2 separate regions of the Homo sapiens genome follow, and region 1 is linked to region 2. The links are contacts of gene promoters, found by promoter capture Hi-C in blood cells and fetal thymus (Javierre and others, 2016). All regions are on one chromosome and are shown on one strand. The core of a region is centred on a gene start or on the middle of the fragment in contact, and the rest is flanking DNA. Distances in the headings are between cores, read along the strand shown.

Evidence for each region. The method cuts DNA at HindIII sites, captures the fragments that hold promoters and counts their contacts. A CHiCAGO score of 5 or more calls a contact.
Region 1: a fragment that was not itself captured here is called in contact with the fragment with the promoter of ENC1 in region 2 in 3 of 17 cell types (M0 macrophages, monocytes and M2 macrophages); the score reaches 7.3 in M0 macrophages.

Annotation. Positions count from the first base shown.
Region 1 is chr5:74,048,525-74,054,896 of GRCh38, reverse strand. The region is part of intron 2 of LINC02122 (long intergenic non-protein coding RNA 2122); the gene reads left to right. It overlaps LOC105379035 (a long non-coding RNA gene), which reads right to left. Exons shown (of 3, transcript XR_948476.3): 3 at 452-1,203. Among named protein-coding and RNA genes, the nearest start is that of LINC02122, 51 kb to the left of the region's middle. The HindIII fragment of the contact is 902 bases long and covers 1,964-2,865 here.
Region 2 is chr5:74,639,365-74,646,389 of GRCh38, reverse strand. It overlaps ENC1 (ectodermal-neural cortex 1), which reads left to right and starts at 5,662. Exons shown (of 3, transcript NM_003633.4): 1 at 5,662-6,083. It also overlaps a transcript of HEXB not described here. RefSeq lists silencers at 2,752-3,046, 5,554-5,813 and enhancers at 3,963-4,676, 4,677-5,392, 5,854-6,213. The HindIII fragment of the contact is 20,564 bases long and covers 1-7,025 here.

The sequences.
Region 1 (6,372 bases), core at 1,165-3,664, 590 kb after region 2:
AACGAGGCCAAGTTTCAGAATCTTTTCTCCAGTGAGGAACAGGGGGAGATACAGGCCAAATTCCAACATGGGCCTTTTCCTGCTTTTATGCAAATCACTCAACATGCAAATGATTAAATAATTAAACCATTATGCTGTTTAAATAAGCCATGTATATTTTCTTCATTGCTCAGACCAGCTACCATTCTTTTGTTGGAGCAATAGGAAAGGGTTAGGAAAAGTCCCCGTGGAGAGTGAGGGATTGGACCAGAAAGGGCTATAATTAGTCATTTTTGTTTAAAATAAATAAAGCAGTTGATGCTATGGAGTGAACACCAATCCCCTGTCCCCAAATGAGGGGACTGGTTTCTTTCTTCGTTGTCACCAAGGACCCCTGTTCTTCACTCTGGCCGGGTGTCAGTCACCTCAGTTTTCTGTTAGACTCGACTACATAATTATGAGCTACCACATGTGGCTTCTGAGACACAACTTTAATTATCCAAACTCTAGCACACAACAGACTCTGAATTGAGTGAACAAAAGCCTATTAGAAGGTAATCCCCTGTGGCCACATTGTAATTATTGTCAGGGGCCATGGTGGCTATGGAATTATCTCTGCAATATCTCGCTAACCTTCTATGCTAGAGTCATATGAATGATGATTTGTGCCATAATCTCATTTCTTTTAATGGTGTGACACAGAAAATAAAGGGGCAGTGGGAGGGTGGGGTAGGGAGGCGCTGCCTGGCTCTGGCACGAAACTCAATTCAGAAGGCCACCACAGATGTGCAAACACAGAACATCCAGCAATTATTGCTATGATAGCCTCTGTCCTCACACCCAGCAAGCAAGGAGCTGGGAACAGTGGGGCATTACTACTCACAAAGCTAGCAACTGAGGCACCCAGCAAGAGCAGCAAAGGCCCCTGGAGAGGAAAATAAGTAGGAACCACCCAGTGACGTGGCTTCTTTTCCAAAGATTTTCATAAACGCATAAAGGATTATTCCACTGCAATGGAAAGTTAAAAGACACTGACATGATGCTCATGGACCTTTTCTATACTATACCTACGAATGCTTTACCCCCACAAGCTGCTCATATTTTATTCTTTGGACTCCTTGAGTAGTACATTTTGCAATTCAATCCAGCTTTTTAACTTCTTTACAATGTGCAGTAGACTGGTCAGCTTCTGTTCAGAACCCTCAAGTCAGCTTGATCATGCAACTGTTAAAGGAACATGGAGAGAAAAAGTATTAGGTTCAAAAACTGCTATTTCAATTGCTTGTTGTTGTTTGTTTTTTTTAGAGATCGAGTCTTGCTCTGTCGCCCAGTCTGAAGTGCAGTGGGGAGATTCTGGCTCACTGCAACCTCCACTTCCCAGGGTTAAATGATTCTCCTGCCTCAGCCTTCAAGTAGCTGGGATTACAGGCGCATGCCGTCATGTCTGGCAAATTTTTTTTGTATTTTAGGAGAGACAGGGTTTCACCGTGTTGTCCAGGCTGGTCTTGAACTCCTGAGCTCAGGCAGTCCGCCCACCTCAGCGTCCCAAAATGCTGGGATTACAGGTATGAGCCACCGTGCCCGGCCCTTCAATTGCTTCTTTAACAAAATTGCTTTACTGGCTTTCTTTGTATTTTATTGGCTGGACAGATAATGATTTAATCACAGCATAGCCTCCTACATTACAAACATAGGAAAGCTCTGGTTTGTCACCATAGAACTTAATGACTAAACGGTATCATCATATTATCACAATGCTTTTTTCTTTCCTGCAGTTCTAATATTTTTCTCAGACCTAATATGTTCTTGGAAGATGTACTTGAACACACTTACCTCCATCCCAAGACAGCTTCTCTTCATGATTTATCTGTGTCTGTCATCGCTTCCAAATTGGCAAACAGAGGCATTCAAGGATATGCATAATGTGGAAATTCAGCGTATGAATTTCATTTATTTTCCCTTACTTCCACATGCCACATAAGCTTTCTAAACTAAATGCTAAGCGTTCCTTATTTCCCACCTTGCTGGGTTAGTGTGCTCTGTTCCCTCAGACAGGAATGTTCTTATTTATTTCCCATCCTACCCCTGATTACAACATCCTATGCATCCTTCCTGGACAATCTCAAGTACAGCTTACCTCTGCTTATTTTCCAAGGGGCTGTAGTTCTCACCTTCTTGGAACCTAAACAGCATTTTCTTTAGCATGTTCACCTCTCTCAGCACTTACTACCTCATTCCACCGTGCAATATAATCACCTGGGTGTTTCTCGCTATCTCTTTCCAGAGAGTAAGCCCCTAAAGGCAGAGATGAGGAATTACTCATCAGTTATGCATTCATTCAACCATCTATCCATGCAATAGATATTTGTCCATTTTTGGCCCAAGAACATTTATTGAGCATCTGTTAAATTCTAGGGATTGTTTCAGGCAATGAGGGTCCAAGGTTAAGAAAGACTAGGACACATTTCTCACGGTCCCTATCATCAGGAACTTAGAGTTTAGTAGAGAGAAACATCTACAGTATCATTTAGAGTGTCAGTGTTCAGAAAGGAGTGATCCTCAGTGAAGCCATAGCCAGCTCAGTGCCAAATTTGTGGCAGCTCCTCCTATTTGTTAAATTTGGTCAGAGGTAAACTGAGTAAGCCCAATTCCCCCCAAACTCATTTTTGAATATGAATAGCTTTACCTAAATGTGCTAAGATGTGTTATCCCTGATGATTCCTAAACTGGACATTTTCAGGGATATATAGCTTCAGCAATTCCTATCATTCAAAAGGCAAAAGACCCAGCACAAACTCTTCATGCATAAAACCTTCAGAGATGCTTTCTGGAAGCACATTCAGTAACATGAGTTGGAAGGTAGCAAGGAGTAGGGGAGGGGAAGCTTTAAAAATTGCTCCTTGAGAATATTCTGGTCCCTTTCTTTCGGCTGACAACTCCAATATCAGCATTTTTGGTGTCAGACCAGGGAAGTCTTCGCAGAGGAGGTACCCTTTGATCTGCATCAGAATGATCAAAGTTCATCTAAAAATCCATGGTAGGAAAAGTAAGTTGCTGGATTAATATCACCACTTTGCCTCATGCTATCTTTCATCTCTATCCCTACTCTCTACAAGATAGAGGTTATCTGTTTAAAATTGCTTTGATATCTTATTGTTTTATACAATTCTTCCTACTGAGATTTAAAGCTGCAGATAGAAAAAAACAAATGCAATATAAAAGCTGGAATTTAGTTAGTAGTAATGTTACCAATGTTGATTTCTTGGTTTTGACATATGTATGACACTTCCTATGTAAAGGGAAATTGGATGAAAGGTACAGTGTTTCTCTGCATTATCTTTGGAACTTTTTTGTAAATCTAAAATTATTCCAAAATAAAAATGTATATAAACAATAAACAAATATACCTCTCCTAAGTAGTCAATGATAAACAGGAATATTTGTTTTGTTTCCAAATATCATTTGCAAACAGGAAACAAATATGCCTTCCCCTTGCCCATATTGGTCCCTGTTTATGCTCTCATACATTCTTTCCTCAAGCTGATCTGATGATGCAAAGCATGGGCCCGCTCACCCCATCTGTAACCTCTTGAGCTCTTGAACTCTCTGAATGCAATTATAGGTCAAAGTCTTCTTGATTGGATTGGAAGAGGTGGCCCAAGTGACATTTTGCCTTGAGGCGCTAATAGTGACATAGGCTATCCCTGGGGTTCTGACCACAGCTCTGTCATTAGCCAGCTACCATTGTTTTGTTAATCTAATGCATGGTTCCATAGGAAATAACAGAGTAAAGGCTTATTAAAGGTGAAGGCTTCATCCATTAAAATGTTCTTTGTCCTTAATGAAGGTCAGTAGAAGACGGATTGTAGGAGGAAATCTTGCTTTATGCTCACCCATATGTCTTAATTAATCACCATGTCAAGCAAGTCCTCAGACTGGATTTGTGTTTGCCCTTATTCTTTAAAAGTTGTCGGAGCAGCGGTTACTGAAACAAACTCAGTGCACTCTGCCATCAGAAAACCGTGTGCTGTACAGCATCCTCCAACCTATGTATCTGAATTTATTTTCTGAAATATTTTCAAGTATGTTTTTCTTTTAATCTCTAATTTCACTAAGACTTTTAGATTTGCACTTGTCCAATATGGTAGCCACTAGTTACATACGGTTATTGAACCCTTAAAATGTGGCTAGTATAAATTGAGAGATGCTGTAAGTGTAGTTTGCTCACTGGATTTCAAAGACTTAGTACAAAAAAAGCAAAATCTCATTGATAGTTTTTGTATTGATTACATGTTAAAATTATAATATTCTTAAAATGTATTGAGTTAAATAAAATGTATTATTAGATTTTATTTCACCTGCTTGTTTTTCCTTTTTTTGATGTGGCTAGTAGAAAATTTGGAATTGCCTATGTGACCCAAATTATATTTTTGTCAGTTAACAAAATTTCCTTAGAGGATCCAGCAAAATATGTTTAGTGACTGCCTGGAACTACCTACCTTCTTCAAAAACCTATTTTAGACCTGACTTATAGGCAGTGGGGACATGGTACAAAGTGATTTTCCTTCATTCTCCATGACATAGTAAGTTAATAAAACTAGACCTAGTTGTTCCACTTGGCTCACAGTAAAAAAAAAAATTATGCAATTGAGAATCTACATGCCACTAAACTCTTAGAGGATCATGAGCTGTTTTAGGCATTGGAGATGCATACGAGATACCATCTCTCTGTAGGCCATTGGTTCTTTTCCTTGCTTGATCCTTTCTTTCCTCCTACCTCCCCAGATATTTACCACCTACTTTGACAGCTTCTTCTAATGTGTTTCCAAATGATCTTTATCTTTTATAATAGAGCCTCTGCAGCTTGACTGAGAGCTTCTTGAAGACAAAGCCTATATCTTAGTCATTGCCCTGTATTGCTCCCTCTACGGACCAGGCACTTAATGAGTTGCTCTATTTGATATATATCACAGGAATAATAATAAGAATAGGATCATTTATTGAACACTAATATATGTCTGATCTTTTTTATAGATGCTTTTCCTGTATTCTCTCATGGAACTATTAGGTAGATACAAAATCACCTATATTTTACATTTGAGGAAATTAAAGGTTGACTTGATAAGGTGGAGTTCATGCTCAGCCTGTGGTGAAAGCATAGAAAGATTGAAACTGGTTCTGGAGAGTCCTTTCAACAAGGGCACTGGTCCCTAGAAACAAAGAGCCACATTCCAGCCTTTCCATCTGCTACTCTCATTCTGGAAAGATGGTTGGATGAACACTAAGTTATTTAATTTAGATAACAATCTGTCCCACACATCCACACACCAAAAATACACGTTGATGGCCTGTTCTGGTGGAGCTGCTTAACATGGCAGCCCCATCCTCTGGAGTGAGAACAGGCTGAGGCCTCCACCCATGCCTGTGCCCAGAGTGCTAACTGGCTGGCTCATCCGGGCAAGCTCAAATCTTCATCAACCATTGTGACTGGGGACAGTCATGTCACTCATTGTTCTTGGGGAACATTATGACTTGGGCTATTTCTTGCAGCTGTGGGTTGATGTTTCCACAGTCTACTTGACAACTTAGAACAAAACATCTGGGAAAAAAACAATGATAACAGACACATGGCATTACTGAAACTCTCTTCTCCTAAAGAGTTATAGGCAAAGGGTATATAGCGGTGGAGGGAGGAGGAGACCTAGGGAGAGTCAGGGTAAGAGGCAGACAGTGAGCATCAGGTGAAATGGTAAAACGTCCACTGAGGGTCACAGGTGATATGATTCTAGTTCTGGCTCTGATGTCAATTAGTTTTATGACCTTAATTCACCTTACCAGAGTCTCAGTTGTTCATCATTAAATTAATGAGGTGATTTTGTCCCTAGAATTCATCAAAGAAACTACAACAGCATATTAAATGCTATTGTAAATATATTTCCATTTTCCAAAAAAAGGGCAAGTGCATAAACTGAATTCCCCCCTGCCAATCCTCTTCCCTGTAAATAGTACATGGAACATGTTACTGCCAGGGAAACTCATTAGAAGCAGTGTAAACTCAGAGCAAGTAGTACATACATGTTTATACTTCAACCAGCCAACATAAGGCATTAACATGAAGGTTGGGTCAATTTTCTAAACTGTAGAAATGGCTTCCTGGCTCTTGAGGTACAATGTGAAACGGTCTCCCAAATGATCATGGGTCTGTAGGAGCTTGGCTTGTCATTCATAACAGCAGTTTTTGAAAATTTCTTTCTCCAGTAGCAATTAAATTTTATACTGTGCATCGTTTATGAGATATTTTCTGCTTCTAGCTGAGTCCTATTAACCATAGAACACAAAAAGACTATCGCTCACAAGATCTAATCCCTCACAAGATCTGAAATAAGAGCACAA
Region 2 (7,025 bases), core at 4,413-6,912:
AGATCTGTGAACTCATTCAAGACACCAGTGTGTCCCTTAACCCAGTGCTACTGAGCAGATGTGGAAATAAGAGTTTGATAAAGATTCAAGTCACTTTTATTTAGGAGAGTTACTTGGAAGGAAATATCTACAGGTTTCAAGAATATCATTCTCCTTAAGCAGTTTACTAAGGAATCATTATAAAAGCCAGCATTATATAGCCCTTCCCACATACCAAGCACTGTTCTATGTACTTTACACATACTAATTTATTTAATCCACAAAACAACCTTCCAGCCAGGTACTGTTACTATCCCATACTACAGATTAGGAAATGAAGGCACCGAGATATTGCCATACTTGCCCCTCAAACACCCAGCTACTAAATATAAAAGTAGGGATCCAAGTTTGGTTCTAGAGTCTCTACTCTTAATCACATAACTGTTAAAAAAAAATAGTATGCAGACATAGGAAGAATGGAACTTAAATGGAGATTAATGAGTGTCATTATCTCCAAGTGATAGGTTTGCGGCTCTTCTTTTGCTTTTCTGTGTTTTCTATATTTCTACCATACATTGTTCTGAGAAAATAATAAGCGCTGTTTTAAATGCTGACCCTAAAATCTATAACCTACAATAGGCTGTGAAGATAATTGTCTTGAAAGGCCCTGGAGTAGAAACAACATAAGCAGTCTAGATCACTTGATTTCCTAATGACCTAACTTTATAGAGTAATACAAGGAAAGTGACTCAAATATGTCTCTCTCCAGTCCTGTAAGCAGCCAATAAACTGTCTACTCCTTGAAATGTCACTCCTTGAAGGGCTGTATAAGGTGAAGGAGTCTCAAAGGAAGAATGAATTTCCCATCTATAACAAGCCCCTAATAGAGGAGCTCAACACGAACAGTGGTGCTTAGTACTTACGGGACAAAGACAGACTTTCACACAACATTTTCCATTAAAAATCATAATACAAAAGTCAATTGTATTTATATGTAGCAGTAGTGAACAATTGGAATTTGAAGTTAAAAATCATACTATATGGAGCCAGGTACCATGGCACCCGCTTGCAGTCCCAGCTACTCAGGAGGAAGAGGCAGGAGGATGGCTTGAGCCCAGGAGTTATACGCTGCAGTGAACCATGTCGGCCTGTGAATAGCCACTGCACTCCAGCCTGGCAACTTAGCACGGGCTCACCTCTAAAAACAATCATACTATACAATCCAGCTTAATTCACAAAATACACATAAGGTGACACACATAATGGATGTAGGAAGCAACTGAAATGTTAAAATATGATCAAACCAATTCGGATGCAATCTTAAGAATACTCCTAAGGAGGCCAGGAGTGGTGGCTCACACCTGTAATCCCAGCACTTTGGGAGGCTGACATGGGTGGATCACCTGAGGTCAGGAGTTCGAGACCAGCTTGGTCAACATGATGGACCCCTGTCTGTACTAAAAATACAAAAATTAGCCGGATGTGGTGGCAGGCGCCTGTAGTCCCATTTACTTGAGAGGCTGAGGCAGGAGAATTGCTTGAATCTGAGAGGGGGAGGTTGTAGTGAGCCGAGATTGCGCCACTGCACTCCAGCCTGGGCAACAGAGTGAGACTCTGTCTCAAAAAAAAAAAAAAAAAAAAAAAAAGGAAAAAAAAGAGGAAGAATACTCTCAAGGTTTATCATGACAGATATTTAACATAAACATAACTTTTTTTAACGCACAAAGATAGAAGATGGCAAACCAAAATTTAGAAAACTATCGATTTAGACCCTTTGTCTTCCCCAGACAAAAAAGTGATAACTGTTTTATAAAATGCTGATAATTTCTTGTATCGATTACCTGTGTTTTTCCTTATTCTCATCTCTTTAATAAACAGCCAGACTTTCCTCTCTCTCTCTTTTTAAAAATAAGAGGATTGCTGATGGAAGCTGAGGTCTCATTTTCCTAGGTTTGTATATCTGTATTCTCACTGTTCTGAGGTCTTCAGATCCTCCTTTGGGAATGGAGGGCTTATTCCTCCAGCCTCTGTGTGTGCTGGCAGCTCCCTCAGCAAAAGAGCACCACCTTGCCCAAAGCCATGGTCCCTTCCCTGGGCAAGCTGCATTCAGCAACTGGGTGATGTAGCCCTATAAAAGCCTTCTTGCCCTAAATGCAGACAACCTGTGAGGCCATTTCAGCTCCAGAGGTCCCCATGGCGTCAGCCAAGGCTTGGCTGAGACCACATCCCAGCTCAGCATCTCCATCTGTCCACCCTGCTTCCCTCCCTTCCCCTTCAGGGATGTTGATCGCAACATATGTGCTACTGGGAGGTGTGGTCCCTGACTGGGCGTCCACTTCCCAACACGAACTTGACACTATGGAAGGGGAGCACAAATCTTTGGTGGGCAGTTGGCCCCTCTGCCACACTCTGTCTCCAGGACACAGCCTTGAAGTCCATCTAGCAAATAACTCGGGGAAGGAAAGCTGTGCTATCTTCCTTGCACAGATTCAGAAAGTGTCCTCATAAAACAAAGAGGGCGCTTTTGGAATACCAGCAGGGAACATGTCTGAATTTGGGTGGGGCTTCAGGAGACCACCGGAGGCAGGATGGCAGCTGCTTAGCCTACTGTTTGGTCTAATTCCCTGAGCTGTCCTGTCCCTGGTACCATGATCGCACCGTGTTAATTAAATCATTCTCATTAATTCAGCCCAAGTGTAAATTAGGAAGGAATGAAGATAAATTAGGTTTGAAGGCAGCTAATACATTTAACCGCATGCTGCTTATTTTGCGGCCTAACAAAATAACATTGTTAGGGGAGATAACAAGCCCAAAGCCTTGGGCACAGCTTCTTAATAGCATTAAAAAATGAGACTTTGGTTTGATGTCACAAGACAGAGGCAAAGACCTGCTCCCAAGGGCCTACAGGACTGGCCTAATGTCTTGTGTGAAGTGTTGGCTATTGTGTAATGCGGATACAGTGTAAGCAGCATTTCCTGACTTGTTTGTGACTCAGATATCTGCTATGTCTATGGTCGTCCAGTTTTGATGACAGCCCTGTTTAGAAGTTTCTTCCTGTACAAAATGAAGACTTGCTCAGCTTTTCTTTGTGTGAGTGGGGTGATAAGAGTTACCTTTAGGATTGGCTGAGAGATGCTGTGGGATTACACCGTTTGAATTGCTATGATCATAAATTTGCTAACTTGCAAATCATTTTCAGCTGAGATAAGCATTAAAAACTGCCCAACTGCCCGAAAACTAGTCATAGATTGGCTCAAGCAAACCAGAGTACAGTTTGTAGGAGGTCATCAGTAGCACCCATGATTTCCAAACTTGCAAGTTTAGTTCTTGTGACTTTCAGCAGGAAAATGTTTTCCAGTTTTTAGGACTTACATAAGCTAATTTCTTTTCTCTTGTATTGCTTATCTCCCCGAGGCAGATGAAGCGAATGTATACGGTCACTGAATGCATTTCAAGATTTTCCAGTCTACAGCTTTTTTTCCCTTTCTTCTATTGAAGCATAGAAAGTGGCAACATTAGGTAGAAAAGATACAGGAAAGTGGCACCAGCGGATGGTGACACAATGGCCAGCGGATTTCTTTCCTTTCTCAGCCCTGCCTGCTTAGCAAAGTTCTTTGCAAAGGGATCTGAACTTTGCTGTTCCCTTGGTTAAGGACATCCCGCAATTTCTAGGTGGTAAAGATACATACCTGTCCCTAGTTCTGTCGCTTCCTGTGGCAAAATCCCCAACCAACCAGCTGAGCTATGTACATAGTCCATTTCTAGGCAAGGTCATCTAGGTGCCGTTTTAGGTAGATTTGACTCACAAAGGAAGCAGACAGAGTGGGTCTAGGAGGTGTCTAAAAGGTGCGTTGGTGGCTGCCTTGATGAGCTCCCCCACACCTTGCCACAGGCTACAGAAACATGTTTTAAAAAGACATATGTGCAATAGTTACACATTTCCGCCTCCCATCTTTTCAGCACCTATCTCTGGAGTCTACAGAGTTTCCATCTGTCTGGTCTTTGCTTCAGAACCTGGGTGCTGCTTGCCAGCCCTCTCCTAACCTCGCAGCCCCCCTGGCTCTCCATACGTGGTTCTTGACATGAATTGATCCGGGCTGTCTCTGTGAATCAGCCTCAAGCCGAGACTCTGCATTAAAAAATATATATATTGAAAGGTTCGTGGTGAGGCTGCCGAGTTAATGCTAACAAAGGACTTCAGAGGGCACTGTCTTTCTTTGTTTGCAAGGAGCGAAATTTCTCGGCGCAAATACCAGGAAGGAACAAGGATAAAGGAAAATGAAATTAGAATGAAGAACTGACAGTCTTGGTTTCAGCAGTCTGGACTCTGGAAGCGCCATGTGGGGCCTCCTTAGCCAGTTTAAATCGCTCCTGCGCCTAGTGTTTTAAAGCAAGCTGGGAGGCGAAGCGCGGGCGCTTGGGGACGCGGGGACCCGGGGACGGAATAAACTCTGTCGTGGGGCCCTCACTCTCGAGCTGCAGAGCTGGGACATTGTTGCTAAGTGACTACGAGCCAGGCAATTCACATCTCCCTGGGCCTCGGTTCCCCACCTGTAAAACAAGGGGGCTGGACCGGTCATCTATCCCGTTCATTTATAGACTTAGCTCCAAATACCGAATAAAAGACAGATATTTTAACTCCCAGTGGAAAGACAAGCCTCTAGTTGCAAAGATAAATGGGATTCGTAAAAGTGATCACCACGCGAGATTATTTTTCGAATCGCCTTCCCTTCTCCTGACACGCGGGACTATTAAACGTGTGTGTGTGCTGGGCCATTTCTTTACTGAACTCCAAACTAACACCACCGAGCGATAAAAAACAGGAGAAGGTGATGGAGGCTTAATCGCTAGGAGAGGAGGCGGCGTGGCTGCTGCTTTGAGGAGTTCACTTTGAATCAAGCGGCCGCGGCGATTGGCTGAAAAGCACGTGGTGCGCGCCCCGCAGGACTGCGCCCCGGCTGCCCCTGCAGTCGCCTGGCTTAGGGCAGAGTCCAGCCGGGGGTGCCGCACCCACTGGGGAGTGGGGAGGGAGGACACATAGGAAATGCCTGGGGCTGGAGTCTCTTTGGCTCTCTGCCAGCAAGAAACTTAAACGTCCTGGCTTGCTCAACCCGAGTGTCCCTAAACTGTCCAGACTTTTGCCCGTCCATTGCCACTATCTCTCCCCACTCTGGGTGTCCTACCCAAGGCGCTGTCTATGCGTGCCCAGGGCCTGTCCTGCGGATACCCAGCTCGCCCCTTGCAGCCCTTTTTAGAGCATCTCGCGGGCTCTGGCATCACCAAGCGCACAGCCCCGGGCTGCGCTCCCCTAAGGTGGGTCCCTCAGATCCGGGGCTGTCCATTAACCAGGCTGGCCCAAAGAGGCGCAGACACTCGAACCCGGGAAAACTTATTTTATTCTCGGTTCCCGGGGTTGCAGCTGCCAGCGGCTGAGACAGTGCGTCCGCTTTGTCTCTCTGCACTCCCCGCAGCCCCCCTCTCCCGCTTCCTCTCCCGATTAACTCCCCCGACACGCTCTTCTCTAGCTCCTCTCCTCCTCCCACTCCTTCTCCTCCTCTTCCTCCTCCTACACCACAGGCCGCGCTAATGCGCTTCCTCCCTCCCCCGGTGTCGGTCTCTTTGCATACGCGCCCCCTCCCCTCCCCGCCGCGCCACTTATAGCGGGGCGCACGGCGGCGGGGCGCAGACTGCTCTGGCAGCCGGAGAGGAGGCGGTGCGGCGGTGGCGCTGCGGAGACCCGGTCCAGACGCCTGGCGGCCGCCGGCACACAAGGCGCTTTCTAGCTCCCTCCCCCGAGCGCACAGCCCGCCTCCTTCCGCGGCGCCTGCAGTGGCAGGCTTGCTCTGCCCTACCGTGACGCGCTCCGGAGACGCTCTGCGGGTCCTGGACACCGGGTCCGCGGCGTGGGGACGACAGACGGAGGCGAACGCCATCGGTAGCCGGTCCGCGAGCCATCGTTCGGGGCGCAGTCCTCTCCCCGGCTGGCCCTCCTTTCTCCGGGGCATTCGCCACCGCTTCCCTGGGCTGAGACGACCGGTTCGTCGCCTCCTTGCCCGTGACCGTCGCTAGAACTCAGTTGTGCGTTGCGGCCAGTCGCCACTGCTGTAAGTTTCCCCCACTGCCCCGGACCTGTTGCAGGCGCTGCGGGCTTCAGGGGCTGCTTCGGCTGCAGGGGTGTGTTCGCGAGGGGTGAGCGTGCTCCGAGCACTCGGGAGCTTCGACTAGAGGGCAAGGGGAGCTCTTCTCGGTGCGGAGATCACGGTGCCCGCCGCTGCCCTCCCACAGCAGGCAGAAGCCGGGCATCGCCGGAGAGGTCGACCGGCCTCCCCTCCGCGGTGCAATGTCTGGGGCGAGCCGCTGGGGAAGCGAGGAGCCGAGCTAAGGATACAGTCAGCCTCTCTCCTCTGCGGAAAGCAGCGCTTTCCTGGGGGTGAATGTCGCGCTGCGTCGCTCCCCGCAGCCTCCAGGGCCGAGCGCGCGGGATGGTTGGCCCACGTTGCATCCTCCCCGGCTTGGAGGAAAGTTGGGGCCATGCACAGACACCCTGAGTGCGGGCATGTTCACTGCGGCGGAAATGTCTATAGAGAATGAATGAAAACTGCTTTCTGAAAAACTAGTTTCTTGATCTGTCGTGTTAACATTATTAGTTACAAAGGATAGGAATTGGTGGGCCTGGAGATGAAACACTGAATTTATCCACATGCGGTTTGGTGTCACACAGGCATGGCCAGCTTGTTAAATAGCGTTGCAAGTGTTAATAAAAAGACTCTGGCAAGAAGCTACTTTTGTTAACAAGATCTTTATAATGTTCTATTGTTACCGGTAATGTAAATGCCCAGAAAAAAATCTGCTTAGTTTCTCTTTTGATTGGATTGAGATCAGGTTCAAAACCTGGAGAAGGGTGCGGGACGCTAAGCATTGGAGGCAGAGAGCCTGAGTTAGGAGCATGAAGTGAACTGAAGTTACTGTAACTGAAGCCCTTTTGATGTTCACAGTAATAGCAGCCCTTTCTCTGTCTTCTTTGCAGACGTAGGTTAAGTACATGT